3 separate regions of the Homo sapiens genome follow, and regions 1 and 3 are each linked to region 2. The links are contacts of gene promoters, found by promoter capture Hi-C in human tissues and cell types (Jung and others, 2019). All regions are on one chromosome and are shown on one strand. Each heading gives the region's core, a stretch centred on a gene start or on the middle of the fragment in contact. The rest is flanking DNA. Distances are from core to core; before and after follow the strand shown. Region 1 overlaps MAP2K5 (mitogen-activated protein kinase kinase 5). Region 2 holds the start of C15orf61 (chromosome 15 open reading frame 61). Region 3 overlaps MAP2K5 (mitogen-activated protein kinase kinase 5).

What was found. The method cuts DNA at HindIII sites, captures the fragments that hold promoters and counts their contacts. A contact is called where the count stands out against the background at its distance.
Region 1: a contact is called between a fragment that was not itself captured here and the fragment with the promoter of C15orf61 in region 2, in 1 of the 25 tissues and cell types used here (hippocampus).
Region 3: a contact is called between a fragment that was not itself captured here and the fragment with the promoter of C15orf61 in region 2, in 2 of the 25 tissues and cell types used here (hippocampus and mesenchymal stem cells).

Annotation. Positions count from the first base shown.
Region 1 is chr15:67,727,064-67,731,050 of GRCh38, forward strand. MAP2K5 (mitogen-activated protein kinase kinase 5) reads left to right here. Exons shown (of 22, transcript NM_145160.3): 17 at 853-882. Among named protein-coding and RNA genes, the nearest start is that of SKOR1, 96 kb to the right of the region's middle. The HindIII fragment of the contact is 4,576 bases long and covers 1-3,856 here.
Region 2 is chr15:67,518,059-67,522,476 of GRCh38, forward strand. C15orf61 (chromosome 15 open reading frame 61) reads left to right here and starts at 3,073. Exons shown (of 2, transcript NM_001143936.2): 1 at 3,073-3,536. The coding sequence starts at 3,191. It overlaps IQCH-AS1 (IQCH antisense RNA 1), which reads right to left and starts at 3,786. Exons shown (of 6, transcript NR_040052.1): 1 at 3,461-3,786; 2 at 942-1,044. RefSeq lists enhancers at 2,660-2,739, 3,380-3,499 and a silencer at 2,920-3,269. The HindIII fragment of the contact is 11,118 bases long and covers 1-4,418 here.
Region 3 is chr15:67,674,878-67,679,332 of GRCh38, forward strand. The region is part of intron 13 of MAP2K5 (mitogen-activated protein kinase kinase 5); the gene reads left to right. Among named protein-coding and RNA genes, the nearest start is that of MAP2K5, 130 kb to the left of the region's middle. The HindIII fragment of the contact is 6,748 bases long and covers 1-4,455 here.

The sequences.
Region 1 (3,987 bases), core at 319-2,818, 210 kb after region 2:
TGGTGTGCGCCTGTAATCCCAGCTACCTTGGGAGGCTGAGACAAGAGAATCACTTGAACCCAGGAGGCAGAGGTTGCAGTGAGCCGAGATCACGCCACTGCACTCCAGTCTGGGTGACAGAGCAAGACTCTGGCTCAAAAAACAGTTTATATCTTTTTGCTTTATATCAAGCCTATTCCTGGTTGGATCATTTTGTTTTTACAGGTGAGGATTCAAGGATCAAAATTAAGTGACTGGCTCAGAAACAGAGCAGTTTACAAATCAAGTTAGATTGGAAGCTTTCAGACTTAGACCTACAGTTCTGACTTCACAACCTTGAAATGGCCATTTTTCCCACTAGTGGGTAGAAAATGGATGAAAAAACTTTAACAAATGGATGAAAATAATGGCGCAGTTTTCAATTTCATAATAATGTCCATTCCCCACTTCCTACTACCCTCCATTTATACTTGTAACTGAAAATTTTGTGGGTTAGTAACAATTAGATGTTCCCATTTTACAAGACTAAAAGCAAAGAGTTTTTACATCTCTGTCTAGAAGAAACTGTCACACACACGTAAATGTGAATAATGCCCATATAGCTGAGAATATTACTAAGGGAAACCACATAAGGATAATGTTTTGTTATTAAAATTAAAATATTTTATCAGGGGTGCAACATCGTCCATTGAAAATGTCCATTCTAAATACAGCTCTTAATGTAATTACAGCAATAATTTAGTTTGTACATTCAAGGTTGTGAACTTTTTTATATTTGCTGGATGCAGTTCTGAAATTTAGTACTTGTCTGTCTTAAGGAGATCTGCCCTGCATGCAAATCTATAACTAGACAAATATTATTTCCTTTCCCAGCTTGCTCTTGGGAGGTTTCCATATCCTCAGGTAAGATTGTTCATTACTGCTGTTTGCCACTGTGACATTCATTCCTATGTATGAAGGTGCAGGGAGCAATTGTGAACATTTGAGCCACATACAAATAAATCTGTCCTGTTAAATTGAAAAGTGGTATCTTAAAGGGTTCATTTAGAAATCTCTATTGATTTTTGATTTTTTTAAACTCCTGATTTTTTCTTCTTGTTAAAGGTTGAGAGTGATCATTGTGCTTTTCCTTTGTGTGACATTCGGGATTGTTTTTTTTCCTGGTCCAATACCATGTACTCATTTTGAGGTTGGAGGAGAGAGCCAGCTTTTTCTTGATACACTTTTTAAGCTCTTAAATTCACTTAAAATTTTTTGAGTTAAAAGATTAAGACAAAGGGTGAAAGCATCTAATCTAGGTCATTATTTTTGCTAGGCAAATATATAGGCCCCCAATTTTATGAGTGTAATTTTGAACATATTATTTAAAAATATTTTGCTCCCTCCTGTCTACATTTGTAAGGAAACAAAACAGTCCATTATAGTAGCATTGCTGACTCTAATCTTTATTAAAATTTCTTTAAGATTTTTATTATAGAAGGGTACCAGCACTAAAATAGAAAGCTATTTTGTGGTTTGAAAATGATTCCCCAGTTTGTGGGGGAAATAAGTGAAATGTCTAGAGGGATGAAAAATGAATGGTTTGACTGTTTTCCTCTGGTTGATGTTCACTGTTTTTCTGGCATCTTGGTCTGTACAGGCCAAAGTGCCTAGAGGCATGTCTGATTTAAAGGTGGTGTTGGTCTCTGCTCTTTAAGCATCTATTAACTTGCTATTATTATGCAAATAAGTGTTGTATTACACATACTAATTTATGCATGGTTAGATTATGCAGATGCATCACAAACATGGTTATTGAATAATAGGATGGGGCTCATTCTCTCTACCATCTTTATAAGCAGTTTTAAGCAAATTCTCCTGGTACCAATGTGGACATTTAAAGACCCTTTACTCAATGAAATGTCTCTTTCGTATTCTTTTGCTTTCATAGTTAAAGCCATCAGATAAGTGGAAGAGAAATCGTCCAAGTTGTTAGGTTCAAGAGTGTTAGTCTCACTTTTCAAATTCATAGACTTTTTTGTTTAAATGTAATCTTTTCCTTATAGAGAAAATCTAAAATGCAGTTGCTTGGCATGAATGCTGGCATTTAGTGAGATTTTAGTGTATATAGCCTTGCTGCTTAGCTCTAGGTAACCCATCAAATTAAAATTACATTTTCAGGATTTATAGCTCATTAGAATATTTATCTTGGTAAGCTTCTTATTCTGTCAGTAATTTCTAAACAATTCAGCTTGGCCAATTTGTGAAATCCCCTAAAATTTTGAAAGTGAACTCACAAGCCCTATGCAGTATATTTCTCAAACAAATCTTAGTAGAAAACTTATAAGCCATCCAGTAAAAATTCCAAAGGTTGAGAATGTAGCAATATTCTTGAGATTCCTAATGTCTAGAGTAGTTAATCAGTGAGATTTGATGGGTGATGAGTCTAAGAAATGGATTTTGCCATGGCCAGGTGCAGTGGCTTACGCCTGTAATCCCAGCACTTTGGGAGGCCGAGGTGGGCGGATCACGAGGTCAGGAGATTGAGACCATCCTGGCTAACATGGTGAAACCCCGTCTCTACTAAAAATACAAAAAAAAAAAATTAGCCGGGCGTGGTGGCGGGCACCTGTAGTCCCTGCTGAGGCAGGAGAATGGCTTGAACCCGGGAGGTGGAGCTTGCAGTGAGCCGAGATCACGCCACTGCACTCCAGCCTGGGCAACAGAGCAAGATTCCGTCTCAAAAACAAAAAAAAGAAATGGATTACTGCCACATTTGACAAGTGAAGCACATGAAAGCTGTGGTCAAATTTGAGAAGAGGCTATTTACCTTTGCAGTATGGTTTTCCTGAATGTCTAAATATATCTTTACTTGATCAGTCAAGTGGAAGTTGGAAAATTCTAATACTATGCTGAACTCCCTAGTTAGCAACAACCTTTATACCAGAGTTGGGGCGGGAAACAACTGTATTCCTTGAATCATGATAGAATGTTGTCACCAAATTGTTACTTCTATCTGAAATAATAGAAGCAGCTTTGATGCCGTTAGGCCTATTTCCTAAGTTTTTCAACAGAAGTTGGGGTGCGTCGTTGCTAGAACCACTAATGACTTTTGGTGGAGTTGGCATTTATTTTACAGGCTTTGTACTATAAGCTGAAGATTGGGAAAGGATACTTTATAAATGCCTTTCCTACCCCTCCCTTATGCCCTCAAAAAAAGCACATGAAGAAAAATGTGTATTTTTATAGTGTCACTGAGGCTGAGTTATGGAATAACACCTTCTCTTTGGCCCACGTTATGTCATTTGAACTCCTACCACTCTGTGAAATAGCCTCCCCTCATAAATTGGACAAACAGAATGGCTGATTTGCTCACTGTTAAAACTGTGACTGGTTTGGTTTCTTTGAATCCCAAGTGCAGTAGGCAGGAGTGAATCATAGACTCTTAGAGTTGGAAGGGATCTTAGACATCATCAAATCAAACTTCTCTACAATGTCTCTGAAAAGCAAACATCCACACTGCTTGAACACTTCCAGTGACAAGAAACTCACTATCTTACAAAGCATCCACAGGGTCAAAGCAGTGTTCTATTTATCAAGCTGAGAACTATCTCATCCTAAGTGTCACTCACTAGTCTGATCCTAGAACACATGAGAGCCTTTCATATATCCTTAAGATCACATTGGTTTGATTGTTCCTAGGACTAGGGACAGTGCCAGGGAATTGCTGCTGTGAACCTAAAGTCTAATCAGGGCACCAGACCTGAGTTGTCTTCACTAGTGGCAAATTGAGAGGAGTGGCCTATTGGAAGGAGCCCTGGACCATGAGCCAGAGTATTAGAATTAGAATTAGGTGCTACCACAGTCTCACTGCAGGTCTTAATTGTTGCTTTGTAACTCTGAGGTGTCAGTTTCCTCATCTCTAAAATGAGGATTCTAATGCCTACCTCTTCTATCTGATTAAAGGAGGTATGCTGATCAAATGAGACTATGGATATGAAACCACTCTGAAAAGTACAAAGGGCCACC
Region 2 (4,418 bases), core at 1,823-4,322:
ACAGAAAAATGTTACATAGTGCTCTTTGAGAAAGTTCATTGGCACTAGTAAGGTTCTGAGGGGCTGGCAAGCTCCAATAGGTGAGGGATGGCAGTGGGAAGAATTAGTCCTAGAGTTGCAGCAAGTTATCTCAGCAGTTACAGATAAAACTGGTCTCAGGTCACAACAGGCAGTTTCAGCAGGGGGACTTGCAAAGAATCACATTTCTTTTTTTTTTTTTCTTTTTTTTTTTTGAGACGGAGTCTCGCTCTGTCGCCCAGGCTGGAGTGCAGTGGCGCGATCTCGGCTCACTGCAAGCTCCGCCTCCCGGGTTCACGCCATTCTCCTGCCTCAGCCTCCCGAGTAGCTGGGGCTACAGGCGCCCGCTACCACGCCCGGCTAATTTTTTGTATTTTTAGTAGAGACAGGGTTTCACCGTGTTAGCCAGGATGGTCTTGATCTCCTGACCTCGTGATCCGCCCGCCTCAGCCTCCCAAAGTGCTAGGATTACAGGCGTGAGTCACTGGACCCGGCCGAGAACTACATTTCTAAAGTAATGTCATATGTCCTGAGTGCTTTCTCCCCCTGGCTTTTCCACTGTTTTAGCTGGGGATAAGAACAACTCAATTCAAAGGATCCACTTTCACAACCACAACCCCCAGCTTCAACATTTTGCAAGCAACAGGATCAAGAGTCCTGTGGCAGTGGGGCCAGCAATGGCATGCTCGCCAGACTAGTTCCTGTTGGTCTTATCTATGTCTTTGCTGTTCGGACTCTCCTCGTTCCTTCCCATTTTCTGAGCCTGGTTCTCTAGACTTCTTGTTTACTATTTGGGCTACCTAATTTTCCTCCAATGAATCCCCTTTCTGCTCAAAACAAAAGAAAATCCAAGACAACAACACACTGAAGTTTCATTGTTTTGTTTTTTATCTATAAAGTTAATATAAAAAATTTGAACTTACAGTTGGACATGGTGGCTTCTGTAATCCCAACGACTCAAGAGGCTGAAGTGAGAGACTGGCTTGAGTTCTGGACCAGCTTAAGCAACATAGTGAGAACCCACGCCTAAAAAATAAGTAAAATAAAAAGTTAAAAAAAGTTTGAACTTATGCTTAGTAATAAAGCATAAGTTATTTTTGTTTTTTTTGTTTTTTTTTGAGACGGAGTCTCGCTCTGTCGCTCAGGCTGGAGTGCAGTGGCACGATCTCAGCTCACTGCAACCTCTGCCTCCTGGGTTTAAGTGATTCTCCTGCCTCAGCCTCCCGAGTAGCTGGGACTACAGGCATGTGCCACCACGCCCGGCTAATTTTTCTATTTTTAGCAGACACAGGGTTTCGCCATGTTGGCCAGGCTGGTCTCGGACTCCTGACCTCAGATGATCCACTGGCCTCGGCCTCCCAAAGTGCTGGGATTACAGGCGTGAGCCACCGTGCCCGGCCTAAAGCATAAGTTTTAACCAACTTTATATGTTGGGGACCTTCAACAGATTTCGTTTGAAAAAGGACTCCACTCTTTTTCAAAATTTAATTTGGTCAGGTGCAGAAGCTCACACCTGTAATCCCACCACTTTGGGAGGCCGAGGCGGGCGGATCACTTGAGCCCAAGTGTTCAAGACCAGCCTGGGCAACATGGCAAAATTCCACCTCTACAAAAAATACCAAAAAAAGCAGCCGAGTGTAGGTGGCACACACCTGCAGTCCCAGCTACTTGGGAGGCTGAGGGTGGGAGGATCTCTTGAGCCCAGGAGGCAGAAGTTGCAGTGAGCCGAGATCGAGCAGCTGCACTCCAGCCTAGACAACAGTGAGATCCTTTCTAAAAAAAAGAAAAGAAAAAGAAATTCTATAAAGTTCAAGTTCTATAAGGTAAAGTTCAACTTCAAATTCTGTAAGGTAAAGTTCAAGATTCGGCATATGTTGGTGGGTGCTCAATGTTCAATAAAAACTGGGGAATAGGCCTGGTGCAGTGGCTCACGCCTGTAATCCCAGCACTTTGGGAGGCCGAGGCAGGTGGATCACGAGGTCATGAGTTTGAGACCAGCCTGGCCAACATGGTGAAACCCCGTCTCTATTAAAAATACAAAAATTAGCCAGGCGTGGTGGTGCACGCCTGTAATCCCAGCCACTCGGGAGGCTGAGGCAGGAAAATCACTTGAACCTGGGAGGCAGAGGTTGCAGTGAGCTGAGATTGCACCACTGCACTCCAGCCTGGGCAACAGAGTGAGACTCCGTCTCAAAAAAACAAAACAAAACAAAACAAAAAACTGGGGAATATAAAATTTCGCCATACTATCCTACATCCCCCTTGAGTTTTTAGCAACGATAGTAATTGTTATATGATGCTTAACGCGTAATTACTGTACCTCATTTACATAAGGTGGTTTCAGACACATCATCTTGTTTATGTATGGCCTCTCCAAACAAAATGAGTTTAGGACAAAAGAGGAAATCCTTTTCTAAAAGCAGTTTTGTCCGTAAGTTACTGCCTCAAGAGGCCGCAAAGTTTGAGCAAAGCTTTTCCGAAAGTAATGGATTGGTAATGGGTGACTGAGGTCCACAAAGCTCGATAAGAGGCTCCTGGTCCGTCTACCAGGTTCTTAGAGGGAGGTGCCTTTGTGTGTTCGGACGCTGCACTGAGACACGTGAGGTTTTTAAATAAACTTTTGATTTTGAAATCTCTGGGACTAATTTTAAACAGTGAACCCGACAGCGAGGACCTACACACAAAAGTGCTCCCGGCCTTACCAAACAACGCAGACCCGGGGTCACGCCTCGTCCTGTTTCAACAACAACACCCAAGGGCTTCCCTGGAGCCCAGGGCGTGGGAGGGAGACTTGGGTTTGAGTTCTGCACCTTGCGGAGGTGGTTAGTTATTTAATTGTCTTCCACCTGAATTTTCCTCAGGCCCAAATTGATGAGACCTCCCCGAATCCCTCCCCTGCCCGAGTTACTAATGACGGCGTGAGGTCACACCTGGCCACTCAAAACCAGCTCCTTGACGCAGGTGACCCTCCGCCTCGCGCAGCTCACGCTTCCCATCCCCCGGACTCCACCCCCAGCGGGAGGCCACGGGGCCGCTGTGCGCACGCGCCGCCGCACACCGGGGGCTCTCGGGCACCCGCGCGGCGCCGGTTGGCCTTCCCGGCGCTCGCCCGGGGGCGCGCTTGCGCGCCAGCGGCTGCGGACACCAGCCTGCGTCCCCGGCGCGGCGGGCCATGGAGGCCCTGAGGAGGGCCCACGAGGTCGCGCTCCGCCTGCTGCTGTGTAGGCCGTGGGCCTCGCGCGCCGCCGCCCGCCCCAAGCCCAGCGCCTCGGAGGTGCTGACGCGGCATCTGCTGCAGCGGCGCCTGCCGCACTGGACCTCCTTCTGCGTGCCCTACAGCGCCGTCCGCAACGACCAGTTCGGCCTCTCGCACTTCAACTGGCCGGTGCAGGGCGCCAACTACCACGTCCTGCGCACCGGCTGCTTCCCCTTCATCAAGTACCACTGCTCCAAGGCTCCCTGGCAGGACCTGGCCCGGCAGAACCGCTTCTTCACGGCGCTCAAGGTCGTCAACCTCGGTGAGTGGCGACTGCCGCGCCCACGCGGTGAAGCCCGCCCGGCCGGGACGGCCCCTCAGCCACCGAGCACGTGACGAACGCTCGCAGGCCGGTAGAGTCCCGCGGGAGTCAGCTCTGCCTCCCGGCGCCGGCTTCGCCTGGGGTCCTTTGTACTCCTCGCCCAGGGGGTCCCCAGCTTGCTGAGCTCCTGGCACCCGAAGCCGTTCGCCTGCTGCGGGCGCGTCCTCGGGCCTAGGGAGGGGCGGGTCGCCCTCCTGTCCTGCCCATGTTAACCAGAGTAGACCCCTGGCCTGGGCAGTAAGCCAGGGGGCGTCAGGAAACGCCCCCTAGAAAGTGGCTCTGAAGTTGACATCCGTCCTACTGCATGGCAGGACTCATTCCCGTGAACATCACTTTGCAGCTGCGTTTATGTTGCAATAACTGGAACTACTCTTTTAAGTTTCTTTTGTTTTCTTTGTATGAATTCCCGGCAAGTTCGTTTTACTAAAAGCACCAAAGGTTTTCACCAGACATAACAGCTTCCTGAGGTGCTAGGCCTAAAAGATTTTTAAAGATCTTTAATATTTGTATATTTTCATGGAGACGCCCTGAGGATGTTTACTGTCACTAGGTGTTTATTTTCTTTTGGTTTAATGACAGAAGAGGGAGGTACGAACATGGACATGGGTGTATCTTTTATAGGTCAGGGGAAAACAGAAGGCCTCAAGATGTTTTGAACTTACTAATAGCTGGCATAAAATCAATCTAGATTTCAGTGATTCAAAATCTAGCCATGGAGCTGAATGAACCATGTTACCCAGCCAGGTTTTTAAAGCCAGGATTAAAACTAAACCCTGCGCAGCCGTACTACTAATACTATTACATAATCTGATCGTCCATTAA
Region 3 (4,455 bases), core at 1,956-4,455, 160 kb after region 2:
AAATGCAAATTAAAACCACCATGAGATATTACTATATACCTATCAGAATGGCTAAAATAAAAAATAGTAACAATAGCAAATGAGGATGCAGAAAATTGGATCACTAATACATTGCTGGTAGGAATGTAAAATGATACAGCCCCACTGCTGACATTTAAAAAAAAGAGAAAGAAAGCTAGACATGCCACTACCGTATGACCCAGCAATTGCATTCCTGGGCATTTATCCCAGAGAAATGAAGACTTCTGTTCACACAAAAACCTGTACGCAAGTGTTTATTGCAGCTCTATTCATCATAGCCAAAAACTGGAAACAACTCAGATGTCCTTCAACAGGTGAATGGTTAAGCAAGCTGTGGGCATTCATACCATGGATTACTGCTCAGCAATAGAAAGGAGCGAACTGTTGATGCCCACAACCTAGATGAACCTCCAGATCATTATACTGAGTGAAAAAGCCAGTCACAAAGGTTACATAGTGTATGATTCCATTTGTATAATATTCTTGAGATGACAAAATTATAGAAATGGAGAGAGCACATTAGTGGTTACCAGGGGCTGAGAGGATGGGAGACAGAGGGAATGTTTACAATGGAGCAAGATGAGGAATCCTCATGGTGATGGAAATGTTCTCCATCTTGACTATCAGTGTCAATACCCTGGTTGTGATACTATACTACAGTTTTATAAGATGTTACCATTAGGGGAAACTGGGTGGAGTGTACACAGGATGTCTCTGTATTATTTCTTACCATTGTAAATGTAAACTTTGAGATAACTGTGTAAATCTATAGTTATCTCAAAATTAAAAGCTTAATGTAAACAACAAAAAAAGAATATATCATCTTTCTGTAGTTACCTGTATTCAGAAGGTCAGCTTAATCAGAGAAGGTTGTCCTGGACTTAGTTTTTCTCTCTCCCATGCTTCTGTGGTAGGATTTGATCATAGGCAGAGTCATCCCTTTTAGGAAATCAGTAAGAGGGAAATTACCCTCTTCCATTCTGAAAATGAGTATCAATGGAAGCCTTAGAGGAGAAATAAGGAAAGACGTCGTGTGTCATTCAAGGAACAAATGCAAATGGAAGAGGATAGTTATTTCCCCAGTCCCCACCTCTAAAAGCCTTCTGACTTGCAGGGGATTGGGATTTGAAGCAGACTGTGTGATCGTTGTGTGTTTTGGCTCACCAGTCTCTATAGTATCCATTAGGGTAAGCTTCTATCCAACCACCCAGCAAGATGCCCCCAGTGTGTGGATGAGTGTTTGATTCACCAAGCCCCGCAGTTAGCTCTGATCATTGCTTTGTCTCTGACACAAACCTGAAGTTTAGGAGCTTATCAGAGGGAGAGAGAGAGCACCTGTATGATGAATGACAGGGTCATTTCTGTTGGTAGAGGAGTTTATGGCATTGATTGTATGCCAGTGGATATTTGTTGGATGAATACATTGAATCATAATTTTCTGAGGGCAGTGTTTTTCTCCTGGAACTTTTTATAATGTGGCTAAATTGGAAGTCATCTTTTGTTCCCCTTTCTCGTATTAAAGTAAGAGATTTATCCTTGGGACATTTTGCCAAGCAGAATGGACAGACAGCTTTAGCAGTTGGAAGAGCTCTCCATGTCTCTTCCTTTCTCTAAAGGCATGGTTGAAGGTGATCAGCACCATGGAAATCAAATCTACTCTTTTGCTGGTGGAAGATTAAGTTCCTTCTGGATTGGGTACAATCATAATGATAACAATATTAATCATTTTCCTAATATCATTTATTGAGTACCTTGTATGTGCTACAGTGTTAGCTCTCTTGTATGTATAATTTTATTTAATTGTTATAATAACCTTGTGAGGAGGTATCATTGTATCTCCATTCTTAGGTGAAGCAATCAAGGCTCAAGCAGCCTAAAAAACTTGCTTAGTTATAGGAAAAGTCATAGGAAAAAGTCATAGGAAAGTGGTTGGTGGCCTAATGGAAAAGCTCTAGTATGAGGGTCAGACCCAGGTTTAAGTTCTGGTTCTTCCTCTTAATTCATCTTAGCTATGTGACCTTGGGTCAGCTTCTTAACTTCTTTGAGGTCATAGCATTGTACCTGGCATATAACAGCTATTATTATGTCAAATAATTATTTCTCAAGAAAAGAAGCAAGAGGTTAAATGAGAGGGAATAGTTAGAACGTTCCTCACACTTTCCTGTTAACATCTCCTTTTCTTAGAAAATTAGCCTGTGAGTATAAAGAACTTAAAACATCTGGGCTATTTTCTTTGTGAACTTCCCAAGATCACCCAACTATTCACTGCCAAAGCTGGGATAATCCATCCTATTAGTTCCAATAAGATTTAGCTCATAAATATAATGCAGTTTGTTAAGGCTTAAGAGCTTTACTAGTCGAAGCCTCTAGTTTTGTGTCCTTGGGCAAGTAATTTCATTAATTTGAACCTCAATTTCCTCCTCTGTAAAATGGGGTTAATAATAGTACCTATCTCAAGGGTTACAATGAGAATTAAATGAGGTAATGCATATGATAATAATGCACTTAGCCCAGTTCCTGGTATATATTAAGTGCCAAGTAAGTGTTATCTACCATAATTTTTTGTTATTTCTTTAAAACAAATTACCAGGATTAGTCTTCGGGACACACCGCTCCAAGTCAAGTCTGCTGTCTTACATCTTATTTATGCATATAATGTGGTATTCCTTTGTTTTCTTTCCTTTTTCCCCAAAAATGTTTTATAGTCAAGAGGAGTCTTAACAGTCAGTGGTATCTTAGACTTGGGGAAGTAGGTTGTGCAGGAACACATTCCTCCAGACCTGGCTTTTCCTAAACACTGACCAGAATATGTACACATCACAGGTAGGAATCTAAGATTCACCACTTTAGAAGGAAATCTCTTTTACTTACTATGAAAGGATTAAGAGAGGGAGAATTGAGAAGCTCAGGCCTTTTTGCCCTTGTTATTAATCTTGTAAGTGTCCCAGGTACCCTGCCTTTATTGAAGAAGGAAAGGGCACGTTTGTTGCCTCCATTCTGAACCGAATCATGAGACTCCAGGCAATAACTGCCATTGAGGATGGCTAATTATGCTGTTTAATTTTATTTAAGGCCTTTGCAAGAATATTTGGATGACCTACCCTTTCTTATGTGATGGAGTCATTAGAATAACTTTTATATTGCAATGTGGTTTTCTCTTAAGTATGTTCCCGTTGTGCACAGATGAATTTGTAATGCAGAACGTCAGCATAGTCTATACTTAATTGTACCTGCTGTTCTCATTCATTAGAATGCAGTCCCCAATAAATAACTAGATAGATATATTGTTTTTTTTCTTTTCATAAGACAATTAAACATAATGAAAGAGCATTGCTGAAGATCCCAGGCACAGTGCTAGGAGAGGTTGCTAGGAGTGGAGACCGGCTAATGTGCCCTCTGGCTCCTGGTAAACTGAGAGTGGCTTCCTGGTATTCACACAGTGTAATTGCTTTATAGGGGGAAAAAGTTGAAGAGAAGTTTATTTCTGCCTCCATTGTCATCCCACAACAGCCACATGCCACATTTAAAAATGTTTCTGTAACAATTGTACCATGCCTGTTTCTAAGAGCATTCAGTGAGACATGTAAAAGTTCAGAGCAAATTAAATGTTTAAATATGAAACAAAGACCAAAAGGAAGTAGAAGTTGGAGATACCAACAGCACCTGATGTGAATAGGTCACAACAAAAAGGGAATCCTCAATTGGTATGGTTTTTCTTTTCTGGCAAAAGAAAGCATATAGCTGATACAAAAATCACAATTTTCTTTAGAACTGATCTTACCAGACACCGGGCACAGTGGCTCACGCCTGTAATCCCAACACTTTGGGAAGCCGAGGCGGTAGGATCATGAGGTCAGTAGTTTGAGACCAGCCTGGCCAATATGGAGAAACCCCATCTCTACTAAAAATACAAAAATTAGCGGGGCATGGTGGTGAGCACCTGTAGTCCCAGCTACTCAGGAGGCTGAGGCAGGAGAATTGCTTGCACCTGAGAGTCGGAGGTTGCAGTGAGGTGAGATCGTGCCACTGCACTCCAGCCTGGCAACCGAGTGACACTGCATCTCAAAAAAAAAAAAAAAAAAGAACTAATCTTACAAGGAAATTACCGTTTGGGTCCCTATACAAAGCACATTAAGTAACTCCAACTGTAGTTTTGTGAAGGAGCTTTTATTTGTTTTGAACAGCCCCCTCGGCACCCAGCCAGATCCTAGCCAAGGGTAACCTCCCACCCTGACCCCTGATTGTGCTGGGGGCAGGGGCTGGGCAGTGGGCGGAGGAGCCCTTTTGTGAAGATGTTGGGAAAGCACATGCTCTTGAGGCTCTGGCCTTTATTAGCAAGCTTCTGCTTGATGCTGTTTATGTGGATTGTTTAATGGCTAATTGATGCAGAATGTGTAAAGATACAGTTTCCTGCGTGAGGCAGTTATGGGTGGC